Linked DNA regions of Homo sapiens: regions 1 and 2 are each linked to region 3. Evidence: promoter capture Hi-C in 16 types of primary human blood cells and fetal thymus (Javierre and others, 2016). All regions are on one chromosome and are shown on one strand. The core of a region is centred on a gene start or on the middle of the fragment in contact, and the rest is flanking DNA. Distances in the headings are between cores, read along the strand shown. Region 1 holds the start of EIF5A (eukaryotic translation initiation factor 5A). Region 2 holds the start of TP53 (tumor protein p53). Region 3 overlaps PFAS (phosphoribosylformylglycinamidine synthase).

Region 1 (2,700 bases), core at 53-2,552, 940 kb before region 3:
GACCTTGTGATCCGCCCGCCTCGGCCTCCCAAAGTGCTGGGATTACAGGCGTGAGCCACCGCTCCCGGCCTACCACTATTTTATTTTATTTATGTATTATTTATTTATGTTTTTGAGACTTGAGTTTCGCTCTTGTTACCCAGGCTGGAGTGCAATGGCGCAATCTCGGCTCACGGCAACCTCCACAGGAGAAGCGATTCTCCTGTCCCAGCCTCCCGAGTAGCTGGGATTACAGGCATGCGCCGCCACGCCCGGCTAATTTTGTATTTTTAGTAGAGACGGGGTTTCTCCATGTTGGTCAGGCTGGTCTCGAACTCCCGACCTCAGGTGATCCGCCCGCCTCGGCCTCCCAGAGTGCTGAGATTACAGGTGTCAGCCACCGCGCCCGGCCCACCACTCATTTTTATAGACAATTTTTTCTAAGGGACCTCGTAGACAATACTTTGGGGAACCGCAGAGCACAGTTGGGGAAAACACAGTAATACCATCTAAGTTTCTTTACTGAGGACCTCAGAGCCGAATGGCCTCTATGGATGCCATAGAGACCAATACGGACTGAGGGTTTAAAGAAGATGGTGTCCGCCGCAGGACCGCTCTATCTTCTCGGGTGAACTCTATGGCAGAGCATAGGCATTCGATTTAGAGAAGTGAAGCCGAGATGGGTGGGAACCCGACCACACTAGCGCGCTAGAAGAGTGGGGCGGAAAGACATCTCCCGCGCATGTGTGGAACTGGGGGGACTGATTCCAAGACAAGGCGCCCACCCCACAGAGCAAGTTTTCTGAAACGTGTGAGTCGTTTAAGTCCAGTTAAAGCCGAGGTGGGGCGTATCCTGAGACGCATGCGTTCTAGACGAGACAAGTGATCTAGCGGCGTGGTCTTTTCAACGCCTGGCGTACTGACGGCGTCTGAGGTGGAAGGGGTTGTTTAGGATTCCGAACACGCATGCGTTCTGAGACCCAGGCGTTTCCTTTAGAGGGTGTGGAGTGCAGGGCTCCTTATTGCGCAGGCGCAAGGACTGCCCGGTAGGACGAGCGGTCTATCAAGGGGAGGGAAGATGAGGTTGAAGAGATTAAAAAACCGGGTGCGCCTGCGCGTTGCAGATTAGTTGAAAACGCTCAGGGTTTGTGAGGGGCGGGGTCACGTATGCGCGTCATTGGACGGGTCGGTGGGAGGGAGGGTGGAGATGGGTAGGGTGTGTGCGCTTGCGCAGTGCGGGGGTGGAGGGCGGAGGAGATAGATAGCACGCTTGCGCGGCTGTCATAGGGCTGCTTGGTTGGTCAGTGGGGAGTCGGCGCCTGCGTACTAAGACCCGTGTGCAGCAGCGGCGGCGGCGGTAGAGGCGGCGGCGGCGGCGGCAGCGGGCTCGGAGGCAGCGGTTGGGCTCGCGGCGAGCGGACGGGGTCGAGTCAGTGCGTTCGCGCGAGGTGAGAGCGGGCAGGGCGCGTGTGCGCGGTACCTTGGCTTGGGCCCGGGAGAAGATGGAACTGCGCGGGGGTCGGGGAGGGGGCAGAGGGGAGCGGCGGCCGCCGCCGCACGGGTTCGGCCAGAGAGCGGCGCGAGGTGAGGAGAGGCGCGGGCGCGCGCCCCGGTTGGCGCGCGGGGTGACGGTTGGGGTTGGCCCGGTGACGTTGGAGCGACGCAGGGCGGGGGACGGCGAGCCGCGAGGCAGCCACGCGGGAGAGGCCGCCAGGCGGCCACGCCGGGGCGAGGGCCAGGGGCCAGATCGGCCCACCGGGGCAAGGGTACCTGGGCCGTTGAGGACCCGGCTCAGCGCGGCCACGTGAGGTGGGGGAGGGGGCTATTCGGTGAGAGGGCATGATGGGGGGGGTTGGCGGACGGCCGGGGGGAGGGGAGGCGGCGTGGCTCCGGCCTGGCGCAGTCTCTGAGGAGGGGGCGGCCGCGGCACCGGAAGTGCCCCCCACGGGAGGCTGCCCTCGGGGTCGCAGGCCGCATGGCCAAGCGTGGACCGGGGCCGCATGGCAGCGCGGGGACCCCTCCCCCCAGGTCCCGGCCACCGGAAGCCCGGAACGGCCACATGGTCGGCAGGAGCCGGCAGCCCCTAGCGCGGGGAGCTAGTCCTCGCGGGGGTTCCGAGGGGGCCTGAGATTTTGAGGAGTGGAAGCCGGAGGCTCGGGTCCTAATCACCCCGGAGGGCCTGCTGCAGGCATATGTTAGCGCTTCCCAACCTCAAGGGCCCCAGGAGCTTTCCTGAAAAACCCTCCTGTGAAGTGTGGCGGTCAGCCAGGTGTAAGTGGCACCCCTTCGAGCTGGGAGGCCGGAGAAATGGGGAAACAGGGCGTTTGGACAGGAGCCCAACTTTTCTGTCGGCCTGGGTGGACAGCGCCTAAAAGCCTCAGGCAGATGAGTTTCCCACCGTGATAGGCGTTCTTCACCTTGTCACTGTCTTCCTGTTGTAACTGGTTTGGGAGTTCCACGGTTTCGAAGTCCTTAACTCTACTAGCCTAGTATGATTTTCTACTACTCACTACTACCAACCTTTTGCTTTCATTTTATTGTCATTCACCACCCCCCACCTCTCCCACTTTCTACTGACTGTACTGGCCCGGCCTGAAAAGCCGACAGGACAGATGCATCCTGGGAAAAGTGGGAGGGCCTTCCAGGAGAGGCTGGGTTCCTGGGTTCTCTTTGGGAACCAAGATCGAGGTGTTTGGCAGGGGGATCATTTCGGAAACAACT
Region 2 (2,700 bases), core at 44-2,543, 560 kb before region 3:
AATGGCCTAGCCCAAAGCTAGATAACAGGTAGATTGTTTTTCCGACAAATTATCAAACGACCCATCATTGCACTCTTTCAAAATTTGATTCTCAGACGTACCCATTCTTTTTTTTTTTCCTCCGGGAAGATGAGATATACTCATTCTTGAAAATACCTCCGGGCTTGCCTTCTGCACACTTCTTTCCCTCCCTGTCTCACGCCATGGTAGCGTCCGCCTAGGTTGCAGGCGACCCGCGGGGTGGGGCACACCATTCAAAGAAGGGGAGGGATTGAGGTTTGCATCAAAACAAATACCCCTGCCTTTGCAAAGGCCATAACTAAGTAATCCAGAAAAAGAAATGCAGGCGGAGAATAGCAGCCTCCCTCTGCCAAGTAAGAGGAACCGGCCTAAAGGACATTTTCTCTCTCTCTCCTCCCCTCTCATCGGGTGAATAGTGAGCTGCTCCGGCAAAAAGAAACCGGAAATGCTGCTGCAAGAGGCAGAAATGTAAATGTGGAGCCAAACAATAACAGGGCTGCCGGGCCTCTCAGATTGCGACGGTCCTCCTCGGCCTGGCGGGCAAACCCCTGGTTTAGCACTTCTCACTTCCACGACTGACAGCCTTCAATTGGATTTTCTCCATCTAGCGGAGCCGGGGGCTGCCTGGAAAGATCGCTCCAGGAAGGACAAAGGTCCGGAAGTTGTGGGACCTTAGCAGCTTGGGCTCCCCGGATCACCCCCAAATGATCATTTCGGAATGGAGCCCCAGTTTTCACTAGGATGCCATGGGCTCTAAAATATACAGCTATGAGTTCTCAATGTTTCGAGATCCAAAAGTCTCAGACCTCAATGCTTTGTGCATCTTTTATTTCAGGGATTCCCTACGCCCAGCACCGGGTGGATGTGCAAAGAAGTACGCTTTAGGCCGGCTCAAGGTTCCCCAAAGCTCCACTCCTCTGCCTAGGCGTTCAACTTTGAGTTCGGATGGTCCTAACATCCCCATCATCTACACCCAGGTCTCCCAACAATGCAACTCCTATGATGATCCCTCTAGCCAAGCTTCCATCCCACTCACCCCCAAACTCGCTAAGTCCCCACTGCCCCACCCCCAGCCCCAGCGATTTTCCCGAGCTGAAAATACACGGAGCCGAGAGCCCGTGACTCAGAGAGGACTCATCAAGTTCAGTCAGGAGCTTACCCAATCCAGGGAAGCGTGTCACCGTCGTGGAAAGCACGCTCCCAGCCCGAACGCAAAGTGTCCCCGGAGCCCAGCAGCTACCTGCTCCCTGGACGGTGGCTCTAGACTTTTGAGAAGCTCAAAACTTTTAGCGCCAGTCTTGAGCACATGGGAGGGGAAAACCCCAATCCCATCAACCCCTGCGAGGCTCCTGGCACAAAGCTGGACAGTCGCCATGACAAGTAAGGGCAAGTAATCCGCCTGCCGGAGGAAGCAAAGGAAATGGAGTTGGGGAGGAGGGTGCAGAGTCAGGATTCTCGCCGACCTGGTGCCGTAGATACTAACATTTTGGGGTGGAAAATTCTGCAAGCCAGAGCTGTGAGGGCAGAATTGGTGGAAATCATTTTGGAGGAATCCTGCATTGTGTCAAATATGAAGGGTGGAAGGAAGAAAGCTTTTGCGTTTGCTCTCAGCTGGATCCTTTCTTCTCATCAGTTAAAATGTCATTTTTTAGGAAGGCTTTCCGTAATATCACACCCTAACGTTTTCTCCCAGATACTTTATATCACACCATCTTATTTAATCTCCTTCACAACCCTTATCACTCTGATAAGATTTATTTGTTCATTGCTTTCAGTACATGGAAACGTAAGCCTTATGAGGATATAGAATTTTTCTACTATCTTATTCATTGTTGTATTCCTGAGTGCCTATATCAGTGCTGGGTAGCAAGTAAGAGCTCGATAATAAATATTTTTTGAATGAGGGAGACAGGTCTGAAGCCTGGAGAATGAGATGCAGAAGAGGTGCAAGACCTGCTGCGCCCTCTGCAGGCGGCGGGGGGGCGGTGCAGGTGCTTTAAGAATTACCGCGGGACTCGGTAGGGGGAGCGTAGGCGCTTCTCGCCAAGATAGAAGCGTTCAGACTACAACTCCCAGCAGCCACGAGGAGCCCTAGGGCTTGATGGGAACGGGAAACCTTCTAACCTTTCACGTCCCGGCTCCGCGGGTTCCGTGGGTCGCCCGCGAAATCTGATCCGGGATGCGGCGGCCCAATCGGAAGGTGGACCGAAATCCCGCGACAGCAAGAGGCCCGTAGCGACCCGCGGTGCTAAGGAACACAGTGCTTTCAAAAGAATTGGCGTCCGCTGTTCGCCTCTCCTCCCGGGAGTCTTCTGCCTACTCCCAGAAGAGGAGGGAAGCACAGGTGGGTTTCTTTAGCTCTGCGTCGGATCCCTGAGAACTTCGAAGCCATCCTGGCTGAGGCTAATCTCCGCTGTGCTTCCTCTGCAGTATGAAGACTTTGGAGACTCAACCGTTAGCTCCGGACTGCTGTCCTTCAGACCAGGACCCAGCTCCAGCCCATCCTTCTCCCCACGCTTCCCCGATGAATAAAAATGCGGACTCTGAACTGATGCCACCGCCTCCCGAAAGGGGGGATCCGCCCCGGTTGTCCCCAGATCCTGTGGCTGGCTCAGCTGTGTCCCAGGAGCTACGGGAGGGGGACCCAGTTTCTCTCTCCACTCCCCTGGAAACAGAGTT
Region 3 (2,700 bases), core at 20-2,519:
AAGTTGGGGAGGGGCTGAAGAGTGGTGAGAATCAAGAGTTCATTAAGTCATTCCACAAGTTTTAGAATTTTTTTGCGTTTCAAGCCCTGGTATTGTTCTAAGCCTTGGTAATTCAATGGAAACGAAGCAGCAACATCCCATGCCCACGTAGAGATTTTTTTTCTAGTGGGGAATATAGAGCGAAAAATAAAAACATCCAATAGTGATAAGCGCTTTACAGGAAATTAAAATAGGGCCGGCCATCTGATAGTAACTACTTGAGTGGCTAGTGAAGCCTTTTCCACGAAGGCGAATCACCAGAAATCTAAATAACAAGAGCTAGCCATGCATATGTCAGGGTGAAAAAAATGCCTTCCAGGACTGAGCTTGGCAAGTTAGAGAAATAAAAAAGAAGCTAATGTGTGGTTGGTGCATTGTGGGTGAAAAAGAGAATGGTGTGAGATAGGGTTGGAAAGGTAGGCCAGAGAGTGGCCAGACTTGGTAAACCAGGATGCTGAGTTGGAATTTATACCATGTGTAATGGGAAGCCATAATCCACTTTATGCTGATGTGTGACAAATGAATTGTGGTTATGCAGTGGTCAGGAGGTTAATGCATTGGTCCAGGTGAGTGATGGTGGTGGCTTACTTGAACTAGAGTGAGGTAGTAGAGATGAAGAGATGAGAGATTTGAGACATGATTGGAAATAGATTTCCTGGTGGATTGGATTTAGAGAGTCTGAGGGAAAGAGAATTAAGGATGACTTCTGTGTTTTTGTCTTGAGCAACAAATTGGATGATGGTAGTGTTTACTGAGTGGCAAGACTAGGGGAACAGCAGAGTTTGGTGAGTAAAGCCAGGGTCCCGCTGAGAGGCAGTGGGACCAGAAATTGGATAGGTAGTTTGGGATAGATGGGGAGGGCCTTTGAATGTTAGGCTAAAAGTATTAACTGTAATAGTTCTGTTGCCTGATGCACACTGGAGGTCAATACACCAAGACACCAGGTTGCAGCAGAGAAAGAGGTTTAATCATAGGGCTGCTGAACAAGGAGACAGGAGGAAACCTCAAATCCATCTCCCAGAGTACTTTGGGGCTAGGGTTTTTAAAAAAGAGTTTGGAATAGGATTAGGATGAAGTGTGAAAATCATTGATTGAAGAGTGCAGGGTGAGGTCATGAAACAGGGAGATGAAGAAACTGATTCTCATGCTCACTTGGTTCCACTGTGGGAGTCTTTTTTTTTTTTTATTTTTTTTAATTTGAAAGATGAGGTCTGCCTGGCGCAGTCGCTCACGCCTATAATCCCAGCACTTTGGGAGGCTGAGGTGGGTGGATCACGAGTTCAAGAGATTGAGACCATCCTGGCGAACATGGTGAAACCCCATCTCTACTAAAAATACAAAAATTAGCTGGTCATGGTGGTGTGCACCTGTAGTCTCAGCTACTCGGGAGACCGAGGCAGGAGAATCGCGTGAACCCGCAAGGCAGAGGTTGCAGTGAGCCGAGATCGTGCCACTGTACTCCAGCCTGGCAACAGAGTGAGACCCCATCTCAAAAAAAGAAAAAGAAAGACGGGGTCTTGCTCTGTCACCCAGGCTGGAGTGCAGTGGCACAATCGTAGCTCACTGCAGCCTCAAACTCATGGGCTCAAGCGATCCTCTTACCTCAGCCTCTTGAGTAGCTGGGACCACAGGTACATGCCACCATGCCCCACTAATTTTTAATTTTTTTTTTTATAAAGACAGGGTCTTACCATGTTGCCCAGGGCTGGTCTCAAACTCCTGGGCTCAAGCAGTCCACTGCTTTGGCCTCCCAAAGTGCTGGGATTACAGGCATTGGGATTATAGGCGTGAGCCACTGCTCCTGGCTTCTGTGGGAGTCTTTGAGCTGGTGGAGTCAGCTGTTCTGCTGGAATTCAGGATCTGCTTAAGCAATTCTTTTTTTTTTTTTTTTTTTTTGAGTCAGAGTCTTACTCTGTCACCCAGGCTGGAGTGCAATGGCTCAATCTTGGCTCACTGCAACCTCTGCTTCCCAGGTTCCAGTGATTCTCCTGCCTCAGCCTCCCGAGTAGCTGGGACTACAGGTGCTTGCCACCACGCCCGGCTAATTTTTTGTATTTTTAATAGAGACAGGGTTTCACCACGTTGGCCAGGTTGGTCTTGAACTCCTGACCTCAAGTGATCTGCCCCTCTTGGCCTCCTAAAGTGCTAGGATTACAGATGTGAGCCACCATGCCCAGCCCTGCTTAAGCAATTCTTTTTTTTTGTTTTAATAATTTATGGGTCGGAATGGTGGCGCACGCCTGTAATCCCAACGCTTTGGGAGTCCGAGGCGGGCAGATCACTTGAGGTCAGGAGTTGGAGACCAGCCTGGCGAACATAGGGAAACCCCGTCTCTACTAATAATACAAAAATTAGCTGGGCGTGGTGGCGCATGCCTGTAATCTCAGCTACTTGGGAGGCTGAGGCAGGAGAATTGCTTGAACCCAGGTGGCAGAAGTTGCAGAGAGCCCAGATTGTGCCACTGCACTCCAGCCTGGGTGACAGAGTGAATCCATCTCAAAAAAAAAGAAAAAGAAAATAAATAAATAAATAAATAATTTATGACATGATATCATCAAGCAATAAATTCTTAAACAAAAGCTTTGTGATCAGAGATCCTTTTTTGTTTGTTTGTTTTTGTTTGTTTTGAGACAGAGTTTCACTCTTGTTGCCCAGGCTGGA

The links. Contacts are between HindIII fragments. The CHiCAGO score rates a contact against its expected background, and 5 or more counts as called.
Region 1: a contact is called between the fragment with the promoter of EIF5A here and a fragment that was not itself captured in region 3, in 1 of 17 cell types (activated CD4 T cells). The highest score is 5.6, in activated CD4 T cells.
Region 2: a contact is called between the fragment with the promoter of TP53 here and a fragment that was not itself captured in region 3, in 1 of 17 cell types (fetal thymus). The highest score is 8.3, in fetal thymus.

What each region holds. Positions count from the first base shown.
Region 1 is chr17:7,306,326-7,309,025 of GRCh38, forward strand. EIF5A (eukaryotic translation initiation factor 5A) reads left to right here and starts at 1,303. Exons shown (of 6, transcript NM_001970.5): 1 at 1,303-1,427. RefSeq lists enhancers at 1-428, 300-599, 429-1,239, 2,470-2,700 and silencers at 1,150-1,259, 1,620-1,789, 1,880-1,999. The HindIII fragment of the contact is 13,725 bases long and covers 1-2,700 here.
Region 2 is chr17:7,686,197-7,688,896 of GRCh38, forward strand. TP53 (tumor protein p53) reads right to left here and starts at 1,294. Exons shown (of 11, transcript NM_000546.6): 1 at 1,181-1,294. It overlaps WRAP53 (WD repeat containing antisense to TP53), which reads left to right and starts at 2,281. Exons shown (of 11, transcript NM_001143992.2): 1 at 2,281-2,365; 2 at 2,452-2,700. The coding sequence starts at 2,453. RefSeq lists enhancers at 15-144, 164-711, 175-224, 185-1,384, 2,183-2,232. The HindIII fragment of the contact is 572 bases long and covers 1,040-1,611 here.
Region 3 is chr17:8,249,755-8,252,454 of GRCh38, forward strand. All of the region lies in intron 1 of PFAS (phosphoribosylformylglycinamidine synthase), which reads left to right. Among named protein-coding and RNA genes, the nearest start is that of PFAS, 1.8 kb to the left of the region's middle. The HindIII fragment of the contact is 2,695 bases long and covers 1-2,617 here.